Linked DNA regions of Homo sapiens: all the other regions are linked to region 1. Evidence: promoter capture Hi-C in 16 types of primary human blood cells and fetal thymus (Javierre and others, 2016). All regions are on one chromosome and are shown on one strand. Each heading gives the region's core, a stretch centred on a gene start or on the middle of the fragment in contact. The rest is flanking DNA. Distances are from core to core; before and after follow the strand shown. Region 1 holds the start of IFNAR2 (interferon alpha and beta receptor subunit 2). Region 2 has its middle 13 kb from the start of EPCIP. Region 3 overlaps DONSON (DNA replication fork stabilization factor DONSON). Region 4 overlaps LOC105377136 (a long non-coding RNA gene). Region 5 overlaps LOC105377136 (a long non-coding RNA gene). Region 6 overlaps GART (phosphoribosylglycinamide formyltransferase, phosphoribosylglycinamide synthetase, phosphoribosylaminoimidazole synthetase).

The links. Contacts are between HindIII fragments. The CHiCAGO score rates a contact against its expected background, and 5 or more counts as called.
Region 2: a contact is called between a fragment that was not itself captured here and the fragment with the promoter of IFNAR2 in region 1, in 1 of 17 cell types (M1 macrophages). The highest score is 5.5, in M1 macrophages.
Region 3: a fragment that was not itself captured here is called in contact with the fragment with the promoter of IFNAR2 in region 1 in 1 of 17 cell types (total B cells); the score reaches 5.9 in total B cells.
Region 4: a contact is called between a fragment that was not itself captured here and the fragment with the promoter of IFNAR2 in region 1, in 1 of 17 cell types (non-activated CD4 T cells). The highest score is 5.5, in non-activated CD4 T cells.
Region 5: a fragment that was not itself captured here is called in contact with the fragment with the promoter of IFNAR2 in region 1 in 1 of 17 cell types (non-activated CD4 T cells); the score reaches 6.2 in non-activated CD4 T cells.
Region 6: a fragment that was not itself captured here is called in contact with the fragment with the promoter of IFNAR2 in region 1 in 1 of 17 cell types (neutrophils); the score reaches 5.1 in neutrophils.

The regions. Positions count from the first base shown.
Region 1 is chr21:33,228,229-33,232,237 of GRCh38, forward strand. It overlaps IFNAR2 (interferon alpha and beta receptor subunit 2), which reads left to right and starts at 1,710. Exons shown (of 9, transcript NM_001289125.3): 1 at 1,710-1,988. It overlaps IFNAR2-IL10RB (IFNAR2-IL10RB readthrough), which reads left to right and starts at 1,710. Exons shown (of 13, transcript NM_001414505.1): 1 at 1,710-1,988. RefSeq lists silencers at 1,527-1,986, 2,047-2,106, 2,127-2,176, 3,399-3,588. The HindIII fragment of the contact is 6,332 bases long and covers 1-4,009 here.
Region 2 is chr21:32,825,039-32,829,047 of GRCh38, forward strand. No RefSeq gene overlaps it. Among named protein-coding and RNA genes, the nearest start is that of EPCIP, 13 kb to the left of the region's middle. The HindIII fragment of the contact is 3,431 bases long and covers 361-3,791 here.
Region 3 is chr21:33,579,518-33,583,526 of GRCh38, forward strand. DONSON (DNA replication fork stabilization factor DONSON) reads right to left here. Exons shown (of 10, transcript NM_017613.4): 5 at 3,971-4,009; 6 at 2,648-2,729; 7 at 2,434-2,538; 8 at 1,785-1,983; 9 at 1-45. Among named protein-coding and RNA genes, the nearest start is that of DONSON, 7.2 kb to the right of the region's middle. The HindIII fragment of the contact is 198 bases long and covers 2,661-2,858 here.
Region 4 is chr21:32,907,715-32,911,723 of GRCh38, forward strand. All of the region lies in intron 4 of LOC105377136 (a long non-coding RNA gene), which reads left to right. Among named protein-coding and RNA genes, the nearest start is that of LINC01690, 49 kb to the right of the region's middle. The HindIII fragment of the contact is 1,712 bases long and covers 1,305-3,016 here.
Region 5 is chr21:32,924,701-32,928,709 of GRCh38, forward strand. It overlaps LOC105377136 (a long non-coding RNA gene), which reads left to right. Exons shown (of 6, transcript XR_937669.3): 5 at 2,252-2,345. Among named protein-coding and RNA genes, the nearest start is that of LINC01690, 32 kb to the right of the region's middle. The HindIII fragment of the contact is 843 bases long and covers 1,794-2,636 here.
Region 6 is chr21:33,513,644-33,517,652 of GRCh38, forward strand. GART (phosphoribosylglycinamide formyltransferase, phosphoribosylglycinamide synthetase, phosphoribosylaminoimidazole synthetase) reads right to left here. Exons shown (of 22, transcript NM_000819.5): 15 at 3,714-3,965; 16 at 3,346-3,498. Among named protein-coding and RNA genes, the nearest start is that of DNAJC28, 24 kb to the left of the region's middle. The HindIII fragment of the contact is 9,220 bases long and covers 1-4,009 here.

The DNA of each region.
Region 1 (4,009 bases), core at 460-2,959:
GGCTAATTTTTTTTTTTTTTTTTTTTTTTTTTTGGTATTTTTAGTAGAGACGGGGTTTCACCGTGTTAGCCAGGACTGCATTTGTTTTTTAAAAAATCTTTTTCCTAATTATATAAGTAAGGATGTTTACTGTAGAATGTTTGGAAAGGAAACAAAATAAAAATCACCTACTATCATCCAATCTGCAATAAGTCATAGTTAAGGTTTTGACATAGTTTTATTTTTAATATATATGTTTATATAAAAGAGTGCATGCAGCACATGGAGTTTGGTATTGGATTTCTCCCATTTTCAGAGGCTATTTCTGCAAATTCTCTAAAACTGTGGCTGAAAATATTTTCAATGTTGAATGTCTTTTATAAGAAATAGGATCCTAGATAAGTTCCCTTCAGATCGTATGGGGCTGGTGGGAATTCTGCCAAGGGTCACATAAGAGGCAGGACCGTGACATCCTCTTTATGATCACCCTTGTGCCTAGCCTTAAAGGAGTATCAGCAAATGTTGGTTGACTTCATAGATTAAAAGGCTCATTTTTCCCATCTACAAAAAGTATGAAACATCCTCCTCCTCCCTTTCCTAGGAGGCCAGAAAGCTGAACGAGAGATTAAATACTCAGTTAAAACAATTTAGGTGGTTAGTGTATCTTTTCCCTCTCCTTCAAAAAGATATTAACATTTCCATTTTAGTAGCTGTAATGTTTAGAATATACATACATTTTACTTGAAAGCTGCCTCATAGTCTATTTTGGTTTTGGATTTTCTTTTTTTTTTCGTTTTTCTTGAGACAGAGTTTCGCTCTTGTCTCCCAGGCTGGAGTGCAATGGTGCAATCTCAACTCACTGCAACCTCCACCTCCCAGGTTCAAGCAATTCTCCTGCCTCAGGCTCCCAAGTAACTGGGATTACAGGCGCCCGCCACCACGCCCAGCTAATTTTTGTATTTTTAGTACAGACAGGGTTTCACCATGTTGGTCAGGCTGGGTCTTGAAGTCCTGACCTCAGATGGTCCATCTGCCTTGGCCTCCCAAAGTGCTGAGATAACAGGTGTGAGCCACCGCTCCCGGCCTCATAGTCTATTTTAGAAGTTGACAGGCTATAAATAACAAGCAGACAAATTAATGAAGAACATCTGTCTTTCTGCCTATCCCGAAACACGTTGATCAGTGGGGGGTCGAGGGAAGGGTAGGAGTATGGAGAAGAGACCCGCGGAGAAGAGGGGAGAATCTACAACGGATAATGTTGTAGATATTTACAACATTTACTCAATGGTAGGTATTTTTATCCTCGTTTTACTAGTTGGAGAATTATATCATGCAGGTTTATACAATTAACAAGTGGGGGAGCCAGGAGAGAACCCATTCACTCTTTAGTTCATTCATTCATTCAGTCAGTCAACACATCTTTGGGTGTCTTCTAAATGCCAGGCACTATTCTAACCCCTAAGGATACTTCAGTAAACAAAACAGTCCCAAATTCTTCCCCTATGGAGCTTTCTCGGCGAAGGCGGGATTGGTTAGGAGCTGACAATCGGCAGCAGACGATTGTAAATGACCGGACCTTTTTTCTATTCTCCTGCCCAGCCCCCGGCCCGGCCTCCGCCTCCGGCCCTGCTCCAGCCCCGCCAGCGGCCCAGGACCCGCCCCTGGCTCCGGCCCCGCCCCTGGCTCCGCCCCCGCCCCCGCGCCGGCGGCGGCGCGGCGCCCGCGCTTCCGTATCGCTCCTCGTAGGCCGGGGCTCGGCGCGCGCACCCGCACTAAAGACGCTTCTTCCCGGCGGGTAGGAATCCCGCCGGCGAGCCGAACAGTTCCCCGAGCGCAGCCCGCGGACCACCACCCGGCCGCACGGGCCGCTTTTGTCCCCCGCCCGCCGCTTCTGTCCGAGAGGCCGCCCGCGAGGCGCATCCTGACCGCGAGCGTCGGGTCCCAGAGCCGGGCGCGGCTGGGGCCCGAGGCTAGCATCTCTCGGGAGCCGCAAGGCGAGAGCTGCAAAGGTAACGCAGCGTGGCGGGGTCGCGGGAGCGGAGCGCGTGGCCAGCTGACTGGAGGGAAAACGCCGCCTCCCTGCAGCGGTTCCCGGAATCCCCTCCGGTTCCCTCTCGCTCTCCCCGACTCCTCCTCCTCCTCCTGCCCTCCCTCTGCGTCTTGAGTATGCGGCTAGTGCGCCCTTCCTCTCTCCCGGGGCCGCACCTGCGACCCCAGGACCCCTCCCGGGCCCTGTCCTGCGCCCTCCACGCGTCGCCCCTGCTGGGAGTCCGCTTTCGTTGCACCCCTCCGCGTCCCACCCCACCCCACCAAGGATGCCCAGGATACCGGGCATTTGCCACTGCAAGATGTGAGTCGTTGCTAAGTTTGAGGGTCACATTCCTCCAGGTCCACCCCGCCTTGCAAAACCGGCTCACCAGCTGGGTGCTCAGGTTCGGGATCTCCAGCCCGCCCCCTTGAGGTCCCCTGGGATTAGCCCCCCTCGACCTGCGTCAGGGTCACAGACTGCAGCCGGGGCTGGAGCGGCCTACACCCCTCCGGATCCGCTGCGTGGAGGCAGGAGGGGGAAGGGGCGAGGGGACGTGGCCGCGGAGACAGAAGGGTGCACCCTCCCAGGGTCGGAGAGGGGAGATACTGGGAAGATACTCCGCGAATATGGAGAGGCGATCGGCACTTGCATTTCAACCCTGAGCAAATCAATCCGTTACACGCAGTAGCGAGTTGACTCCATCAGCCCGTTTATTTGGTTAGCGATGGTTATATTGACTCTGAGTATTCCCACCTCCTTTCTTTTAACATTTTTTTTTTTATTTCCTTGTTTTGTTTAGCAAGAAGTCTTAGAAACGAATATAGCATGCTTGGGCGTTGATTCAGTGGTGAGAAGTGCCGGAGCTGGCTCAGGGAGAGGTGGAGTTTCCCATGTGTGCTCACTGGCCCAGGGGCTAAGTCCCACTGCTTGCCAAGGTTTCTCAGTATCCTGTCCACCCACCCCCTATCCACCTGTGCAGGCTTGAGGGGGTGAGGGGGTAGCAGATACTCTATCAAAATCTACCCTAAGGAAAATATTCGATAAACACTCCTAGCAATTAGGGCATAGCTGATAAGGCTTGATCTGTTTGTCGCAGAAAATGACTTGAACTTGTAAGTTCTATTGTTCATAAAGTTGTTTTCCACAATTTTAGATAATCAAAAATGTACATGACTCATTTTTCTTACCTATTATTTCCTCTAAAGTTTCTCATGTATTTATTGAAAAGTTAAAGAAAATCTGATTTTGGTTCACATAATTTGACAATGGTGATTTGTCTAAAAGTCATTTCAAAAAGTAGTATGAAAAGGATCATAACCCTAGAGGTACTGTCATAGACGTGAAACATTTATTAAAATATATATTCCATGGCTCACACTTGCACACTCAAAGCCACATTGGACTCATTTTTTCTGCTACCTTTATAAACCTTCAAACTGTTCAAGAGTCAATGGTATGTATCATCTTCCGTTATCAATCATCATGTTTTGTTTTGTTTGGTTTGGTTTGGTTTGGTTTGGTTTTTGACAAAGTCTCGCTCTGTCGCGCAGGCTGGAGTGCAGTGGCACTGTCTTGGCTCACTGCAACCTCCCCCTCCTGGGTTCAAGCGATTCTTCTGCCTCAGCCTCTTGAGTAGCTGAGATTACAGGCGTGTGCTACTACGCCTGGCTAATTGTATTTTTAGTAGAGATGGGATTTCCACTATGTTACCCAGCCTGGTCTGGAACTTCTGACCTCAAATGATCCACCTGCTTTGGACTCCCAAAGTGCTAGTATTACAGGCTCAATCATCATGTTTTATCAAAGCTAAAACCCAAACTAAAATGCCATTGCTTATAAGATGCACTTTCATTTTATGTAATGAAGTAAGAAAAAACACTGTCAATCATGCTATGCCATGCCACCAGAATGAAAGCATTCTGATTTCAGAAATTCTCAAATGTTAAAAGAAAATGGGCATTTTATAATTTGTGAAATATTAGTGAGTTAGAGCAGAGCTTG
Region 2 (4,009 bases), core at 826-3,325, 400 kb before region 1:
TGTACATGAATGTTCATAGCAACATTATTCATCATACCCCAAAGTGGTGACAACCCATGTCCATCAACTGATGAATAGATAAATAAAATGTGGTATATCCACACAATGGAATATTATTCAGCACCGAAAAAGAATGATGTACTGATACATACTGCCACATGGATAAACCTTGAAACATTATCTAAGTGCAAAATGCCAGTGTGAAAGCACCACATATGGTATGATTTCATTTATATGAAATGTCCAGAATAGGAAAATCCATAGAGACAGAAAATAGATTGGTGATTTCCTAGGGCTGGAGGTGAGATGAAATGGGGAATGACTGCTAATGGGCATGGGTTTATTTTTGGGGTGATGAAAAGCTTCTAAAATTGATTGTGGTGATGGTTACACAATTCTGTGAATACACTAAAACCAACGAAGTTTGCACTTTACATGGGTGAATTGTGTAGTATTTGAATTATGTCTCATTAAAGCTGTAAAGAAGAAGTAATTGAAGAAATCAGAAAGGAAATGTATTAGATAAACAGAACTGATAGGCTATATATAGATGTAAAGAAAGGGATTTATTATGAGGGATTAGCTCACATAATTGTGGAGGCTGAGAAGTCCCTCCATCTGCCATTTGGAAGTTGAAGGTCCAGGAAAGCCAGTGGTATAGTTTCAGTCCCAGCCCAAAAGCCTGAGACCCAGAGGAACCAATGATGTGAGTCTAAGTCTGAGCCCAAAGACCCGAGAAGCTGGAGAGCTGATGTCCAAGGGCAGAAGAAGACGGATGTCCCAGCTGAAGCAGAGAGAGCCAATTCACCCTTCCTCCATCAGCTATTTGCTTGTTAATCCTGATTGTGCAAATAGCTCAGTGTGCAAAATATATGTCTAAGAGGGAGAGGAGGCTGGGCGCGGTGGCTCACGCCTGTAATCCCAACACTTTGGGAGGCCGAGGCGGGCGGATCACGAGGTCAGGAGATCGAGACCATCCTGACTAACACGGTGAAACCCTGTCTCTAATAAAAATACAAAAAATTAGCTGGGCATGGTGGTGGGCGCCTATAGTCCCAGCTACTCGGGAGGCTGAGGCAGGAGAATGGCGTGAACCCGGGAGGCGGAGCTTGCAGTGAGCCGAGATCGTGCCACTGCACTCCAGTCTGGGCAACAGAGCGAGACTCCGTCTCAAAAAAAAAAAAAAAAAAAAAAAAAGACGGAGAGGACACACAGGAGATCTGGGCGACGAACTAGCTCTGTTATTTAAACAACCATTGTAAAAGTTGTTTATGTATCCAGGTGGAGAGCCACTGATGAGGGAACTTGCTGGGCTTAGTTTCTGAGTCTCCACCAAACCTGTGCCTTCTGCTAAGCTGGGGATCTGCTAGCTGCCTACTAAAGGACGGGTGCCTGGAATCCACTGACAGTTTCACATACGGTGTGTTCTGGGGCATCAGCCACCTAGCTGGGGAGAGGGCCCTGGCTCAGAAGACTATGAGGGTGCACAGGAATAACTGGGGCTCCGTCACCCAAGGGAGGGTGCCTGTAGGACTCAGTTTAAGGGACAGTTTCAACCTCCTGGTGCCATCTTTCACTTATGTCCCACACTTCCAGTTAGTCTTGTGCCTCATCTAAATAACCACACCCTGATATTTGCCAAACTGGACCATGAGCATCCCCTCAGATTCTGCTTCAAACCATAGCTGAGCAGGCAACTCCGTATAGGCCCCAAGGCATGTGTATTTCTGATCAAGTCCTCCACCTACTGGTGACACTTGATTCTCACGTCCCTAGGGTTTACCAACAACACTTGTCTTTCCAGACTGTTCTATTAGAGTGTATGCTGACACTCCTCCATAACGACAACAACAAAAAATTAATGCCTGTTAGAGGCGCTATCCATGAAGCAGCAACAGGAGACTGACTGCTTTTGCTATGAGCCAGAGTCTGATGTGATAAAACCAGAAACAAAAACCAGCCTCTTGTCTTGGTGAAAAAGGGGGCCACTAGGCAAAAGGATGGCGAGAAAGGCCACCTGCATTCCTCATTCAAATTCTTCCTCATTCCTTGATTTCTCTCAACAGGTAGCCATCAAATCTGAGATTCGGTGTTGTTATAAATCTCTTCAAGAATATTGGGGAAGAGGCTGGGCATGGTGGCTCACGCCTGCACTTTGCGCCTCCCAGCACTTTGGGAGGCTGAGGAGGGCAGATCATGAGGTCAGGAGTTCAAGACCAGCCTGGTCAACATGGTGAAAACCCGTCTTCTACTAAAAATACATAAATTAGCTGCGTGTGGTGGCAGGAGCCTGTAATCCCAGCTACTTGGGAGGCTGAGGCAGGAGAATAGCTTGAACCCGGGAGGCGAAGTTTGCAGTGAGCTGAGATCATGCCACTGCACTTCAGCCTGGGAAACAGAGTGAGACTCCATCTTAGAAAAAAAAAAAAGGACTATTGGGGAAAAAATAGCAAACCCTGGACATTTCAGATCACTAAACTACCCCTTGTGTGACTTGCTCAAAATAATGTTATTACAAACTCATGGAATATTACTGGCTTTAGGCGATGACACAGTTGCAGTAATGTTCTGATTTGATTATTCAGAAATGAAATTTATGGTTTAAATTTCATCCAGGATTTATAGAATTTAAAAAAGTTATTCTTCAGTATTTGAAATACCACTTTGCCAAAGCAGAAAAGCCATAAATGTGTTAAACTGGCTAAGAAAATTAAGATGGCAGTAATACATTTTCTAATAAAAATCATAGCATAATAGCAAAATTACTGCGGAAAACCACAGTTATTGTGGCAAAGACATAAAATGTTACAGCTGCAATAATATGCTATTTGTTTTGGCAGGAGAATAAGAATACTGTACATTGCAGTTTTTCAATATTGGAAAAACATAAGAAAATACTATAAACTTAAAAGACTATTTTTTAAAAATGAAGAAGTGCATGAATGATTTTAAATTTTGAGCATATAAAAGAGTCTTGCTGCAAAGTCTATTGAACTCCTGAGAAGACTCTGTTTTGCTGTTTCTGATTTGCCAGTATCCTACCAGAAAACTATGCCTCCCAATAGAAAAAGAACACATAATCCTGTCTGTATTTGAGGGTTCAAGCCTGGAGATTCCGCCCCCTTGGTCGGTTGATTTTTATTGGAAACCCAAGATGCACCTGCCTGTGGAATGCATTTCAGAATGTGGAAGTACAGCAGGAAGAAAGCAGACAAGAACACAATCCCATGGTATTCTTGGTTAGGGACAGCTTGGGGGTCAGTGGGGGAGACATACACAGATTAAATGATTAATAGAGTAATTCAGCTTATTTACATTAGTCTGGTTTTTTACATGAGGGGCTCACAAATTCTTAATTTGTCCTTTCTTTATTATATTTTTCTTTTTTGCTATCTTTCAATATTGATTATCCATTTCTTCCCTTAATTACTAGACTTTCTGAACTTTTAAAAACATATATCTTCCAACTGGAAAGTATCTGTCCCTTATAACAACTACCAGTACTACTCATAAAACAACAAAAACCCATATAGCACTTAATAAGTGTCAGTCAGTATTTTAAACAGTTTATGCATATTATTCATTTAATCCTCTCAATGACCCTGTGAGAAGGTGCCATTATTCTCCTTATTTTTCATACGTGGAAAGTAAAGAGTAGGGAGAAACTGTCCAAGCTCACACAGCTAGTAAGTCATAGAGCTGAGACTGGAACCCAGATAGCCTGGCCCCAGAGTCCTTCACTATTCTGAATTTATAAAGATATTTTTGATATTTTCTTCCCAAAGTTTTAAAGCTTTCCTTTTCACATTGGAGTTTTAAATCTATCTATAATTAATTTTGAGTATGGCATGATTTAGGTATAACTTTTTATATGAAAAACTAATTTTCCCAGTTCTATTTATTGATATGCAAATATAAAATGTCTCTCTTTCTCTCTCTATATATATATCTGAGGTTGTTTTTGAGTGCTTTATATTCTTGCTTTGGTCTGAAAATTCACAGGTTGAAA
Region 3 (4,009 bases), core at 1,510-4,009, 350 kb after region 1:
TCTGTATCCAGAAAGAGCTTGTGTCTTCACATTCACACTCCGTGCCTTCATGAAAATGTAAAGAAAAGGAAAATTAAGATCATCTCTCAACCTTTTGCCTAGCCAAAAATATGTTCAATATATTTCCATTTGGGGTTTCCTCTCTTTTAACAATTATGGAATAAAACTATTTCCCAAGACATCTAAACAATGTTATGTGAGTACAAATACTTAGTAAATTTTCAGCAACCTTTCCATATTAAGAGATTTTCAGGTGAAGTATATTCCAGAGAATACCATTTTTTCATATAGTATTTTATCTGATTTAGTAATACACTGTCAATGCAGACTATTGGAAAAACAAAAATTTAAAATCCATTCAATTTTATTGCTAAGATTTAGCATGTATTTTGTATTTACATATATAATTTATTATGATTATAATCCCAGCACTTTGGGAGGCCAAGGTGGGCAGATCACTTGAGGTCAGGAGTTCAAGACCAGCCTGGCCAACATGGTGAAACCTCGTCTCTATTAAAAATACAAAAAAATTAGCCAGGCATGGTGGTGTGAGCCTATAGTCCCAGCTACTTGGGAAGCTAAGGCAGAAGAATCACCTGAGCCCCAGAGGCAGAGGTTGAAGAATCGCTTGAGCCCGTTAGGCAGAGTTTGCAGTGAGCCAAAATTGAGCCACTGCTCTCCAGCCTGGGTGACAGAGCAAGACTCCGTCTCTAAATAGATAGATGAATGAATGAATGAATGAATGAATGAATGCAGGGCGGCCAGGTGCAGTGGCTCATGCCTGTAATCCCAGCACTTTGGGAGGCCGAGGGCAGATCATGAGGTCAGGAGTTCGAGACCACCCTGACCAACATGGTGAAAACCCGTCTCTACAAAAAATACAAAAAAAAAAAAAAATTAGCCAGGCGTGGTGGCACACGCCTGGGTGAGAGTGAGATTCCACCTCAAAAAAAAAAAAAAAAAAAAAAAAAAAAAAAAAAAAAAAAAGCAGGGCATGGCAGTCCTGTGGTCCGATACTCGAGAGGCTGAGGCAGGAATTTCACTTGAGCCCACATGGTTGAGGCTGCAGTGAGCTGTGCCACTGCACTACAGCAAGACCCTGTCTCCCCAACCAAAAAAAGAAAATAAATGTTCGTATAATTTAAAAAGAGGCCAGGAGTTCAAGACCAGCCTGGCCAATATGGTGAAACTCCGTCTATACTAAAAATACAAAAATTAGCTGGGCGTGGTGGTGCCCACCTGTAACCCCAGCTACTCGAGAGGCTGAGGCAGAAGAATCGCTTGAACCCCAGAGTTGGAGGCTGCAGTGAGCCGAGATCGCACCACTGCACTGCAGCCGGTGACAGAGTGGGACTCCCTCTTAAAACAAACAAACAAAAACAAACAAGAAAAAAAAAAACAAAAAAAATAGCTAGGCTTGGTGGTGTGTGCTTGTAATCCCAGCTACTCAAGAGGCTGAGGCATGGCGCGAGAATCACTTGAACCCGGGAGGCAGGGGTTGCAGTGAGTTGAGATCACGCCACTGCACTCCATTCAGCCTGGATAGCAGCGCAAGACTCCATCTCGAAAAGAAAATAAAAAGGATTTCATATAATTTATATATTTCCACATAATTTCTTTGATATAACTGTCTTATATAATTTTTGTTTCTTTTTTTAATGGGAGGAAAGCAAAATGAAAATATGTACCAAGTAAAAATGCTAGGAGGTTTTTTTTTAAATCAAGAATTTATCCTATCAAAGTAAAGTACTTCTTAAAAGCTAGGTTATGCAGACTTTTATTACCTTAAGCATTTGCATTGTGGCACCTCGGAAAGCAACAGGGGACAAGAGGGTTGGAGGAAGTCCTGCCTGTGGACCTGAGGTAGCAACTAAACTCTTAGAGTTAATCAAAAAATTGAGCAATGTAAAGGTGTTGATTCCTTTTACCAACACAACAGATTCAGGTCTGTGATCCATTTGTACTTCATGTTTCTCTTTACGCCTGAAGATGACAATCAAGGAAATTGCAAAAGCAAATCTCACCTAATGTGGAAAGCAGTTATCTTGATTCTGAATCACCTGAGACTCCTTTTCTCCATAATGAAATGGAAATCCTCTTGCTACCTCTCTTTACCGAATCATAAGGCATATGTTTCAATCAAAATGTTAACAATCTGAATTTGCTACAAACTGACACCTAAACCTAATTTCTTCTCTAGTCAAAACACACCTATTCTCCCACAATCATAATTGAACGTTTTGATTAAAAAAGGTTTAATAGTTCACCATTTGTTGATACTTAGGGGCTTATTTAGTATTACAATGGAGAATTAGTTTTAATATGACCTGAAGATAATTTAAGATTATAATCATATAAAACTGCCAATGTTAAACTTCTCACTAACGTCATTCAATGAAAATTAATTCTAGTTAACAACAACTGAAAGGATACAGCTTGATAGAAAGTATGTCTGGCTTTTTAATTTTATCTTGCACACCCATCTCTTCCAGCCAGGAAAAACTTTCCTCTTCATCCTCATCACTGATGGCTTGCTCCCTAGGAAATTGCTACAGTTAGAGTCCCTATTTCACAAGCTGTTCCTGTGCAAATCTATTTCATGAGTCCATAAGTCAGTGGATGATATAAAGTTATTTTAATCACATACTCCCCATATCCCAAGCTTGTTCCAGATGCTGTCTCCTTCTTATGGCCACTTTCTTTTATTAAAGGCAGAGAAAATTCAATACCTATATGAGGAACAAAAATGTAACTGAGTTGTCATTTAAAGTATTTAACAGGCATGCTGTACTTTTAGAGTGTAAAAAATTTGAAATGTTAGTTTTTACAAATGATCTATTAAGGCAGTAGAGTTTTCAAGCTTTCTTCACAAACCTACAAACATGCATAAAACGTATTCTCCTTGAAAGAGGTTCGGGAAACAACACATACATGTAACACTCTTTCATAAATCATATTGTATTCCAGTTCACTTTTTGAAAAAGTACTGATTGGGCCCATTAAGTAGATTTCATGATCCACTAATGGGTTTACTCAGTTTGAAAATTTTGTTATTAAAGGGGTAATTGGTACTATAGAAGAATTTCTAGAAGAGTATATTCAGATAGTGACTATCTGGCCCAATATGTGTTTTATTTTAGAGATCAGAGAACACTATGTGGAAGGAACAGTTTAAATCAGGAGTCCCCAACCCCTGGACTGTGGACTGGTACTGGCCTGTGGCCTGTTAGAAACCGGGCTGCACAGCAGGAGGTGAGCGACTGTCGAGTGAACATTACTGCCTGAGCTCCATCTCCTGTCACATCAGTGGTCGCATTAGATTCTCACAGGGGCACGAATCCTACTGTGAACTGTGCATGTGAGGCATCTAGGTTGTGCCCTCCTTATAAGAATGATGATCTTGTCCGGGCGCGGTGGCTCACGCCTGTAAGCCCAGCACTTTGGGAGGCCGAGGCGGGCGGATCACGAGGTCAGGAGATCGAGATCGTCCTGGCTAACACGGTGAAACCCCGTCTCTACTAAAAATACAAAAAATTAGCCGGGCATGGTTGCAGGCACCTGTAGTCCCAGCTACTCGGGAGGCTGAGGCAGGAGAATGGCCTGAACCCAGGAGGCGGAGCTTGCAGTGAGCCGAGATTGCACCACTGCATTCTAGCCTGGGTGACAGAGCGAGTCTCCATCTCAAAAAAAAAAAAAAAAAAAAAAAAAGAATGATCATCTGATGTGTAACAGTTTCATCCCGAAACCATCCTCCTCACTGCCCATGAAACTGATCCCTAGTGCCAAAAAGTTTGCGGACTGCTGGATTAAATAATTGTGGGGGAGGGAAAAAAAGCCAGAAATAAAGAAATAATATATTTCTTAATGTTGCTAATCAACTGGTAAAAGGCATTTTAAATTTAAATAGCTTTTAGGCCAAAATAGGTTTACTATATAGTATAGTATTCTCACTTTAAACCTAAACTTTTACCTTCATTTCTCATAGCTTCTCTTAAACCTCGAGTTGTTG
Region 4 (4,009 bases), core at 911-3,410, 320 kb before region 1:
AAGGAGGAAGGTGAGGAAGGTTAGAAAGGAAAGGAGGGAGAAAGGTAGGGAGGGGAGAAACAAAGAAAGAAACAAAAAAGAGAAAAGAAAGAAGCCCTCATTGGTAGCATTTGCAAATTTCTATGGTATAAATATTCCCTACTATGGCTGATTTCAATCTACCAACATAATTTCACTGAACACGTAGTTGGAAAGAGATGTACACAGTCAGCTCTTGTAAGCCAGTCATAGCTGGCTCCAGCACACCACGTGGCTATCTCAATCTTCAGAGTCTGTTCTGAGGGTCTGTTTCCTGGGGCTACTCCTGGAACCCATTACTGTATCAGTCAGGGACCTAGCAACAAATAGATGGCCCACTAATAGGGAGTAATTTGAGAAAATTTTAACAAAGTAATTATTTACAAATAGTATTTTATAATTATTTAATTATCAGTTAATTTAATAATTATTCATTATAATTAATAATATATACAATGTATAATATATAAATTATATAATATATTTATTATAATTAATAATTATAGAAATATATTTTTATATTATATTGTATATATAGATGTATAAAATATTTAATATATAAATTGCATATTATATAAAATTTAAATGAGATTTATAAGATATATAAATTAATTAATTATATTTATAATTTATAAGTATGCATTTATAAATTTATATACATTATTTATAATGTATATACTTAATTATTATCTTATTAATTATATAATTATATTATTAGTTGCCTAATTACACTTATATAATTAATTTATATAGTTATATTTATATAATTATAACAAATATAACTATATAACTTATAATTATATTTTATCTATATATGGAAATATTTTATATATTATAACATATAAATAGTATAATTATAATGAAAATATATGAAAATATAAATAATAAATAATTATTCATTTAATAATTATTTAATTATTATTTACGAGTTAAGAGTGGGTAGGGTCTAGAGAAACCACAAAGGACAGTGAAGGTTTCTTGGGCTAGTAAGAGCAGGGCTCTGTTACAGTCCCTGGGCCTGAAGTGCAGAGGGAAAGAGCAGTTACTGGAACATGGAGACAGAGAGAAAGCCACGTGACAAGTCCTGGGTGCTTTGGTCAAGGAATGAAGCCAGCCTTATATCAATTCCTTAGGGAGGGAGCTGTAATTTCTTTTCCTCCTGCCCTCCAAACTACAATTTTTCCTCGTTGGTAGGGTGACCAATCGTCTCAGATTGCCTGGGATTATCCTGGTTTTAGCAGTTAAAGTCCTAAATCCTGGAAAATCAATTCGGTGATATGCACAGAAGCTTGGGGGAAATGTGTAAAAACCATATGGTGGCCCAAAAAATAGGGGCTGAATGCAATACTGTTTTGGCTGTAAATGGGTACAGTGCAGATGATCCACCTTCCATAACCCCTGTTGCTGTTTCTCCCCTGACTGCTCAGGTTGGGGACCACAACTTGTCATTCAGAATAGTGGATCATCCACGGTTGCAACTTTCCCAAGGTTGCAACTAAGTGTGCGTCACAAGTACACTGCAATCACAGGCATTAAGAGTCTGTCTTTGACTTTACCTGTGAACTAACTGTTGTCCTTTGTATCAAGATAGTGCTCATTTAATTTTTAGCAGTTGTAAATATTGTGGCCATATTTTCTAAGAGTTCAGATAATTAAAAAAGATAGTGATTACAATACCAATGCTGGCGTAAACCAAGGCATCACTGGAAAAGAAGGCTAACCAACTGTGTTATCTTAATGACATATGGAAGGACATGTACAACCAGATTAGAGAGGTAAATAATCAAAACAGAGCACGCTGCTCAATATGCAGAAAAGAGTTTTGAGCCAGGCACAGTGGAGAAGGGGATGTGAAAGTGCATGTGGAGACGACATCTCACAATTCTAAGATGAAACCGATATCCCTAAGTCAATCAAAAAACGTTGTCTACCAAAAAATGTCCAGTCAAAAATAGCAGCTGCTGCATTAGCTCAGTCATACCACACAAATCACTTTATCAAATCACTCTTTTGATCATTTTATAGGATTCAGTAAGGCTATATTTCCTGATTCAGAGGTTACAACTGAAATGTCTTGCAAACAAACAAAAGAGATGAATAAAAACAATAAGAGATGTGTTGGTCCCTTACATGGTAGAACTGATCTTTTCCTATCTTCCCCACAATCATGCTTTCTGCAGCTCTGAGTTTATAAGCTCTTATAAACTCAGAATATAAACAGCACTTATCAGAATATAAACAGTGTTTCTGCAGCACTCAGTTTATAAACTCAGAAAATGTAAACCAAAAGATTACTGATACCTTATCTGAATAAAAACTAGACATTTACATCTCTAACCCCAGTGCCTTGGGAGGCTGAAGTGGGAACCTTTCCTGAGGCCAGGAGTTCAAGACAAGCCTGGGCAAAATGGTGAGACCCCCTGTATTAGTCTGTTTTCATGCTGCTGATAAAGACATACCTGAGACTGGGCAATTTACAAAAGAAAGAGGTTTAATGAACTTACAACTCCACGTTGCTGGGGAGGCCTCACAATCATGGTGGAAGGTGAAAGGCATGTCTTACAGGGCAGCAGGCAAGAGAAAAGAGCTTGTGCAGGGAAGCACCCCTTTATAAAACCATCAGATCTCATGAGACTTATTCACTATCATGAGAACAGCATGGGAAAGACCTGTCCCCATGATTCAATTACCTCCCACCTGGTCCCTCCCACAGCACATGGGAATTCAAGATGAGATTTGAGTGGGGACACAGCCAAACCATATCACCCCCCATCACTACAAAATATATATATATAAATACATAAAAAGAATAAAAATAAAAACTAGACTTTGTTAATCTACCTACAGATATGACTGAGAATGCAAAGGTAAATTTTGGCAAATTATTTTCAGTCTATAAACTTCTTACCAATGAAAATGGAAAACTCTTATCTGCTAATTGTCATATATTTAGGGGGTGTGATTTGCTTATCTGGGATATTGATGATTTCATAATGAAAGCTTTTGGTCAGCTTTCATTTCTTTCAAAATGTGTAGAAACAATGAGACTTTTGACTTTGTAGAAATGGTAGGAGGTAGTCTCCTTAGACGCATGCCTACAAGGTGGCTATTATCATTGCCTGCCATAGAGAAAATATTAAATTGTTGGTCTATTGCAAAGTAATATTTTCAAAGTTTGGGATAAGAAGGATGTCCCTGTTTAATTTGGAAATACACTGAGGCTGATAATGGAGACAAGGACAGAACTTATGTGCTCTTTCTCCAAAACTGTTTGGTGGTATTTGAAGAGCCCATAAGGAGCATAGAAAAGGATGGGCAGACTGGACTTCAGTTATTTGATGTTATGTGGACATTGTGAAAAAACTCACTAAAAAAAGGACTTAGCAGATGAGGACAATAAGGCTTAGATTCATTCTAAAAAGTGATACTTTAAAAAATAATAATAAAGCAGGTTTAAAACTATAAAAAACAGAAAATGGCAACAGAGCTTTCTTAATTTCTCTACTAAATTGGTAGTTTATTTGTAATCCAATTTAAGATTTTAAAACTTAAAATTATCTCTGTGCTTTAATACCATTTTCTGTGAGAAACAAAGGTTTAACTTATAATGCCATCCAATGTACTTCAGACTAGGTAAAATGATGGCCGTTTTGGACATGACTGACTCATATAACTAATTTATTGATACAAAGAATCTCACTGAGAAACATCTGGTTTTTCAAAATAAGTCTTTAGATACAAAGTGGATGGACAATCTTGGAGAGCTGCAAACTAATTCTTGCTTGTCTAAAAACTTGTTCTTGCTAGCGGATTACATGGCAAAATTTTAAAAGGGTTTCACAGAATGTATGTGTTTACTATACATTATTATTACCCTTTCTCCAGAGAAACAGAAGCAATAAAAAAGCTATCATCTTATTGTCTATCTATCATCTATCTATCTATCTATCTATCTATCCATCCATCCACTGAGAAATTTATTTGAAGGAAT
Region 5 (4,009 bases), core at 965-3,464, 300 kb before region 1:
CCGATCTGTAGGTTGCCTCTTCACTCCACTAATTGTTTCCTTTGCTTTGCAGAAGTTTTTTTAGTTTGATGCAATCCATTTGTCTATTTTTGCTTTTGTTGCTTGTGTAAGATACTAATTTTAAACAAACATTCAGAGAACAAACAAAAGTGCTTGGAAACAGGAGAAGTAAAAAAGTTAAGAAAATCTCTCAGGATATAGAGTAAAAACACGGAAAATAGGAGAGAAGAAATAATGAATTTATAGAACCACACCAGAATGTCAAACATCCAAATATGGAAAGTAGATTTAGAGACAATGGAAGGCAATTTTCCAAAGAAGCAATTCATGAAAACTTCCCAGGTATCAAGTTCCTGAATCAAGTTCCCAAGGTATCAAGTTTCACAATTGTACCTAGCACTATGGATGGATGAAAATTTATTCACTGAGACAAATCATTGTGAAATTTCATCATGATGAGAATAAAGAGAAGATCCTACATGTTTCCAGAGAGAAAAAAGATAACATGCTTTATACAAAGGATCAACAATCAGAATGTCATTGGACTTCTCCAAAGCAATATGGTGGAAGACAACAGAGAAATATTTCACTATTTGAAGAAAAAATATTTCTAAAGGCAGAATTTTATACCCAGCAAAACTATTAATCAAATGTAAGGGTATAAAAAATAGGTTTTCAGACATTCCAGGCCTTATACTAAAGCTATTGGAAGTTTTTTTTTTTTAAATAAAAAAGGAGTAAAATTTTAAAAGAGGAAGATGTATGGTCCAGGAAACAGAGACTCCATCATAGAAGGGAGGTGAAGGAAATCTGCACTAATATAATAACTGCATAGTAGACTTATAGGACAACAATCCAGAAGGTTCCAGAAGAGACTGCTTCAAAAAGATGGAATTATTGTGCTTGAACAAATTGAGAGGAGGGCACAGTTTGGGGACAAATGATTAAAACAAACAAAAAAAATTGTCTTTGTTTATAAAAAACAAAATATCTACCTATATGGATTAGAGAAAGTAAGTCAGGTAAAAAAGGGAATTTTTAACCTCAGGAAAAGCATAAGTTGTTCAGAAATGGAAAAATAAATGTAGTATTTATGGTTCAGTGATTCACAGTATTTAAAGAATTATAACAATGTAAACATTGTTAAAAAGTAAATTGAAGCTGGTTGCTCCAGCTTACCCCTGTAATTTCAGTACTTTGGGAAGCCAAGGTGGAAGGATCACTTGAGGCCAGGAATTTGAGACCAGCCTGGGCAACATAGCGAGACCCTGACTATACAAAAACCTTTTTTTAATTAGCCAGGAGTTGCGGTGCACACCTGTAGTCCAGCTACTTGGGAGGCTGAGGCAGGAGGATCCTTTGAGCCCAGGACATTAAGAATTCAGTGAGCTATAATCGTGCCACTGTACTCTAGTCTGGGTGACAGAGCAAGATCCTGTCTCTAAAAGAAAAATAAAATAAATTGAAGCACAACTTTAAAGAATATATTTGAGCAAACAATGATTCATTAATCAGACAGCTCCAAACGAGGAGTATTCAAGAGCTCCACCAACAGACCACAAAGCAGGAGACTTTTATAGGACAGATACAGAAGTAAAGCAAAGAAAAATTTGATTGGATATAGTTATCCAGTTGCCTTATTTGGTCTATGTCCGTTAGTCCATTCTTGCATTGCTATAAAGAAATACTTGAAGCTGGGTAATTTATAAAGAAAAGAGGTTTAATTGGCTCATGGTTCTGCAGGCTGCACAGGAAGTGTTGTACTGACATCTGCTTCTGGTGAGGCCTCAGGAAGCTTCCACTGGTGGCGGAAGGTGAAGAGGAAGCCAGTAAGTCATATGACAAGAGCAGGCATGGCGGCGGGGGAGGAGGGCAGGTGCACACACTTTTCAACAACCAGAGTTCACGTGAACTTATAGTGAGAACTCACTCATCACCAAGGGGATGGCTATTCATGAAGGATTCGCCCTCATGATCCAATACCTCCCACCAAGCCCCACCTCCAGCACTGGGAATTACATTTCAACATGAGATTTCGGTGGGGACAAATATCCAAACCATATCAGTCCCACTGGAAAATCCCTAATTAAATAATTACAAGTTTTTGGCTACTTCTGATTGTTTGGGCTTAAATTATGTTTTTCTTTAATACAGGCATTTGCAAGAAAAATCTGAAGTTAAGTTTTGCTTATGTTTGCAATCAAGCAAGGTTTAGGTCACTTAAGAGGCCTAACTTGTTTTGTCTGCTCAGAGATTCTTCAGGCCTGACCTCCACTTTAATTTACTTGAAGAGCATCGAATATGAATCTGCAGAATTTCAGTGAAACTATAGAGGAAGAATGGAGGTAAGGGGTGTGTGTGTGTGTGTATGTGTGTGTGTGCGCCCACAAGCACTTGTGCATGCTCTTGTGTGTATATGTTGTATGTTATGTGAAACAGTAAAATCCTTTTTTATCTGTAGAGGAAGTCAATGTTCAATGCATAAGATGAAAACACCAAGAAATAGTAATGAAGTCATGTTATTATAGATATATGGATGTAAATATCAAAAGAATCCATTAAAATGAAAGTGATTGCTTTAGAATTAGAAAATGGCAGAGGGAAAATGGAGAGTTGAGGAACTGCTCTCTATCATAAGCTTTAAATCTATCTTCCTGGGCATGGTGACTCACGCCTGTAATCCCAAAGTTTTGGGAGGCTGAGGCAGGAGGATTGCTGAGCCGGGAGTTTGAGACTGGCCTTGGCAGCATAGTGAGCCCCCATCTCTACAAAAAATAATAATAAAAAAAAAAACTAGCAGGACATGGTGGTGCATGCCTGTAGTCCCAGCTACTTGGGAGGCTGGGATGGAAGGATTGTTTGAGCCTGGGACAGTGAGGCTGCAGTGAATCGGGATCATGTCACTGCACTCCAGCTCTGGGCAACAGAGAGAGACCCTGCCTCAAACAAACAAACAAACAAGCCAAAAATACCCACAAACAATCTAACCCTAAACTCTGTGGATTTACAACTTTCATTTTAAAAAATTTTAATAAAAGGAAGAGATCAATGGTCAAAATTATAGAGTAGTATAGCAGAATGAGAATTAACTAAAAATCACTTCCAGGGACCAGCAGGCTACTATTTGGCAATGGAACAGTTCTGGGTTGGTCCACCCTAAGTGCTAGAGTCTGCCTCTATTCTAGGTCCCTCCTCAGTACAGGACAATTTGTTTCATGAAACTACCAAGTTGCTTTGTTACTATATATAAAAATTATTCAGATTTATCACGTCACCACCCGCTATGAGAATTTACGCAACAAACACCGAGCGCTTGCTTCTCAATGCCTCTTTCTAACGTTGTGTCTCTATTTCTTGTACCATCTCCCCCCACCCACCCTGACACACATTAAATCTAATCAGGGTGTTATCTAGATTTCAATACAAGTTTGACAAGTAGACAAGTATATGAATAAGAGATTAACACAAACTCAAACTGCCCCATGTGTCCTGTCTTCATGGAAATTAGCTTGTAAAGTCAAATGAGTTGGTTTTTCTTTTTCTTTTCTTTCTTTCTTTCTTTCTTTTTTTTTTTTTTTTCGGAGACAGGGCCCAGGTTGGAGTGCAGTGGTACAATCACAGCTCACTGTAGCCTCGACCTCCTGGGCTCAAGCAATCCTCTTGCCTCAGTCTCCCACGTAGCTGGGACCACAGGTGTGTGCCACCATGCCCAGCCAATTTTTGTATTTTTTTATAGAGACGGGGTTTCACCATGTTGCCCAGACTGGTCTCAAACTCCTGCACTCAAGTGATCTGCCAGCCTCAGCCTCCCAGTGAGTTGTTTTTTCTCTTTGTTCTCACATCATCCCTTTCTCCTTCTTGCATATCCCTAAGTTTAAGCCCCAGGTTATGCCGCATCTCCTTGATGAAGTCTTTCTGATCAGGGTCGGGCTTCCCAAAGATAACTTCTTCGTTCTCTCTCACCCTCTTACTGAAAGGCACCAACAGCTCTTCTTAGCAATGTACTGAG
Region 6 (4,009 bases), core at 889-3,388, 290 kb after region 1:
CTGGGAAATGTCCATTCTTAATAGTTGACCTCAGATTTAGTAACTACATTGTTCACTATGCTCTCAATAGTTAAAAGTAAATAGCAACTTAAAACTAAATAGTGGTACATCTGTAAAATGGAATACTTGTTATCAAAAATGATGCTACTAAGACAAGGAGATAGTGATGACATATTTAATGGCAGGGCAAGTAGCAGATTACCAAATTATGATCTTGTTTTAGTGAAGTTTTACAAAATATTTATAGGAAAAAACACTGGCAGACTAAGAGTCTAGCTTCTATAAATGAACAAGTACTTCATGAATAATGTAAGTTGTAATTTTAATGTTGAAAAGTCCTGGCCAGGTGTGGTAGCTCATGCCAGTAATCCCAGCGCTTTGGGAGGCTGAGATGGGCAGATTGCTCTGAGCCAAGGAGTTTAAGATCAGCCTGGGCAATGTGGTGAAACCCCGTCTCTACTAAAAATACAAAAAATAGCTAAGTGTGGTGGCGTGTTACCTGTGGTCCCAGCTACTTAGGAGGCTGAGGTCGGAGAATCACTTGAACCCAGGACGTTGGGGCAATAGTGAGCTGTGATCGCACCACGGAACTCCAGTTGGGGCGACAGAGTGATACTCTGTCTCAATAAAAAACAAACAAAAAAACCCCCAGAAGTCCTTACTTAAATCTGTTGTCAAAGTATGATTCCTGGAAGAAACTTTAGAGGCTGATGCAAGGAATTGTGCAATGGCTTTTATTGGAATACAGACATTTGTGTAACTCAAACTATAACTGCTTTCAGGAATATGGCTATATCACTTTCAGTTTCTTAATGAGGTGACTACTATGTTGTTTTTAACTAGTGGTGTGCTAGAGCCAGCTTGTAGAGACTGTTAAACAGCCATTTTTAAAGCAGCTATGATGGGAGTATTTATACCACAAAAACTGGCAAATGCACAAATCAGTCCTGCCTCCTTTCCCCATTCATCAGCAGGCCACTGTTTTTTAACTATTTGAAAAGGATGATGAATGAACTACTTATTAAGGTTCTTATATATGCTCACCAGAAAGCATTTCTACCCAAGGAATGTCTTGAACCACTAGTTTCACCCTCCTATGAATCCTTCAACTCCTTAATATGCTCAGTCCATGGACCTGGAAGAGACTCCCACTCAGCCTAGCCTGGCCTGTCTGTTTTGCTTCCCTGACTAGGCTGAAATCCCATCTGACCACTCTCCCAGCTTCCCTTGCCGATTTCCTCACTTCCACACAACCTACCTCTGACTCTTCAGTTCTCTCCGAGCTTCACATACGCTCTGACTCTTGGGTTAGCTCACCATATCTACTCACCTCTATCACTCTGACTGCTTCTCCCCAATGAATGACCCCAATACCTGCTTAGTTCAGCTGGATCAACCTAACTAATCTATTTTTTTTCTGTTCTTGCTTCAAAGCTATATACATGCTTTTGCTCTGGGAGAAAAACTACATGAGCAGCTTCACCTTCACCTGTGCCTTCAGTCCTGCTCACTGTCTCACTCCTGTTTGACCTTGACTGCTTTATCCACTCCTCTCTTCAAGCTCCCACCCCAGGCCTGATCATCTCACTAATACTTCACAGAGAAGTTATTTTATGTAAACTCCCTCAGTTTCTACTCCTTCAAATCAATGTGTATTAGTTGACTATAGCTGGAAAAGTTTCTCTGACTTTATTTTACAAAAACAAGGAAGGGAGGGGCTGGGCACAGTGGCTCATGCCTGTAATCCCAGCACTTTGGGAGGCCAAGGCGGGTGGATCATGAGGTCAAGAGATTGAGACCATCCTGGCCAACACGGTGAAACCCCGTGTCTACTAAAAATACAAAAATTAGCCGGGCATGGTGGCGGGCACCTGTAGTCCCAGCTACTTGGGAGGCTGAGGCAGGAGAATCAGTTGAATCCAGGAGGCGGAGGTTGCAGTGAGCTGCGATTGCGCCACTGCACTCCAGTCTGGCGACTCCAGCCTGGCGACAGAGCAAGACTCCAACTCAAAAAAAAAAAAAAAAAAAAAAACGAAAAACAAAAAACAAAAAAGAACACAGGGAGGGAGGACTCTGTCCCTCACTTTTGCTGCATGCATAAAATTATTCCACTTCCCTTTTACCAGTATGTTTCTTCAAACAGAAATCTCTACCCACTGTCTCCACAACTCTGCCACAACAATCTAGTGGGTGGTATCTATGTCCAGCAAACTGACTTTTGACCTAACTCTAAAATACACTGGTCTTTTTCTAGTGCTTATTCTAGATCTTTGTGCTGTACCTGACACTGCGGACCAGTGTCACGTTAAAATCCTACCTTGGGGCCGGGCGCGGTGGCTCATGCCTGTAATCCCAGTACTTTGGGAGGCTGAGGCGGGCGGATCACTTGAGGTCAGGAATTCGAAACCAGCCTGGCCAACAAGGTGAAACCCTGTCTCTACTAAAAATACAAAAATTAGCCGGGCATGGTGGCGGGTGCCTGTAATCCTAGCTACTTGGGAGGCTGAGGCAGGATAATCGCTTGAACCCAGGAGGCAGAGTTTGCAGTGAGCTGAGATTGCGCCACTATACTCCAGCCTGGGCTACAGAGTGAGACTCTGTCTAAAAAAAAAAAAAAAAAAAAAAGAAAAGAAAAAAATCCCATGTTGGTTTGATGATAATACTTTTACATGGTTTACCCACTACTTTGGACTGTTCTTTTCAGTCACTCTACTTTGAGAAACAACCTTTTGGTCTCCCTCATTCTCTTGGCTATAACTATTACTACGTGCAAATAATCACCCAATTTATCTTCAGCATGACTTCAACTTCTGCTCACAGTCACCTTGGAATAAACACACTGAAGATTTAAAAACCTTCTATTCCAAACTTACTCTTCTTCCTATGTTAATGATGTTACCGCCTACTCACCTGCTTAACTAGAAACCTGAGACTTCTTTTTACTTCTAAGCATAAAATGATTCTCCAATGTGCCTCCCTTCTCTATGCCTTGGTTTAGGTCCTTTTATCTCGAATATGGATTACTTAATAGCTAACATTTCCTTTCCTGGTGTGTAGGGCTCCATCTTAATAGAGCTTGAAGTTACCAATCCCCTTGGAGGACCTACTTATCGAGTACTTCAACTTTATGTAAGCCAATTACATGACAATATTTTATGTCTTATAAATACAGATAATGAAGCAAAAAGAGATAGAAAAGGGTCGAGTTTTTCCCTCCCAAAACCCCCAATGATTAAGAATTTTCCATGTGTAATCATGTGTACATTAACTACCCATAGTTTTCTCGCACAATGCATTTTTTTCCTCAGCAATTTTCTGAACAGAAGTTCGTTTTAGTGATCTTACCTAAATCTACCCCAAGTTTCTCAGGGAGGACTCTGGGGATGTTCTCTAGTAATCCTCCACCAGTAATATGGGCAAAGGCTTTGACATGTCCTGAACGTAGGACAGGTAACAGTGAATGGCTGTAGATTCTGGTAGGCGTGAGAAGTAAGTCCCCTGCATGTTGAAGAGAGAAGACAAAAACTTAGCCTATGAATAGAAAACCAAAACATAAAAATCAACCTGGAGAATGACACCAGCTCTACAATAATGACCAAGTAGCAAACCAAGGTAATTCATTCCCTTTTAGCTCTAAGTAATCAGAGACTAAAACCACTAAATGCTTGCTCAGGCATTTCCAAGCAGGACAGTTTAAACATGAGGGAGTTTACCTAAAGTCTGGTCACCACAACCATCAGGTGCTGGAGAGGAGTACTGGAGGGAAGATTTTGCCACGATTTTCCTCACAAGGCTAAATCCATTGCTATGAAGACCAGATGAAGCTATTCCAACAACAACATCACCCTCAGTGATTCTTTCCAGGTGAGGGAGTTTCTGATCTCGCTCCATGGCACCAACGGCAAACCCAGCTAGGTCATACTCTCCAGGGGGATACATGTCAGGCATTTCTGCTGTTTCACCTCCTGGTGGGATAAGACAAGAACAAAGAAATCAGAGTATTTATAAA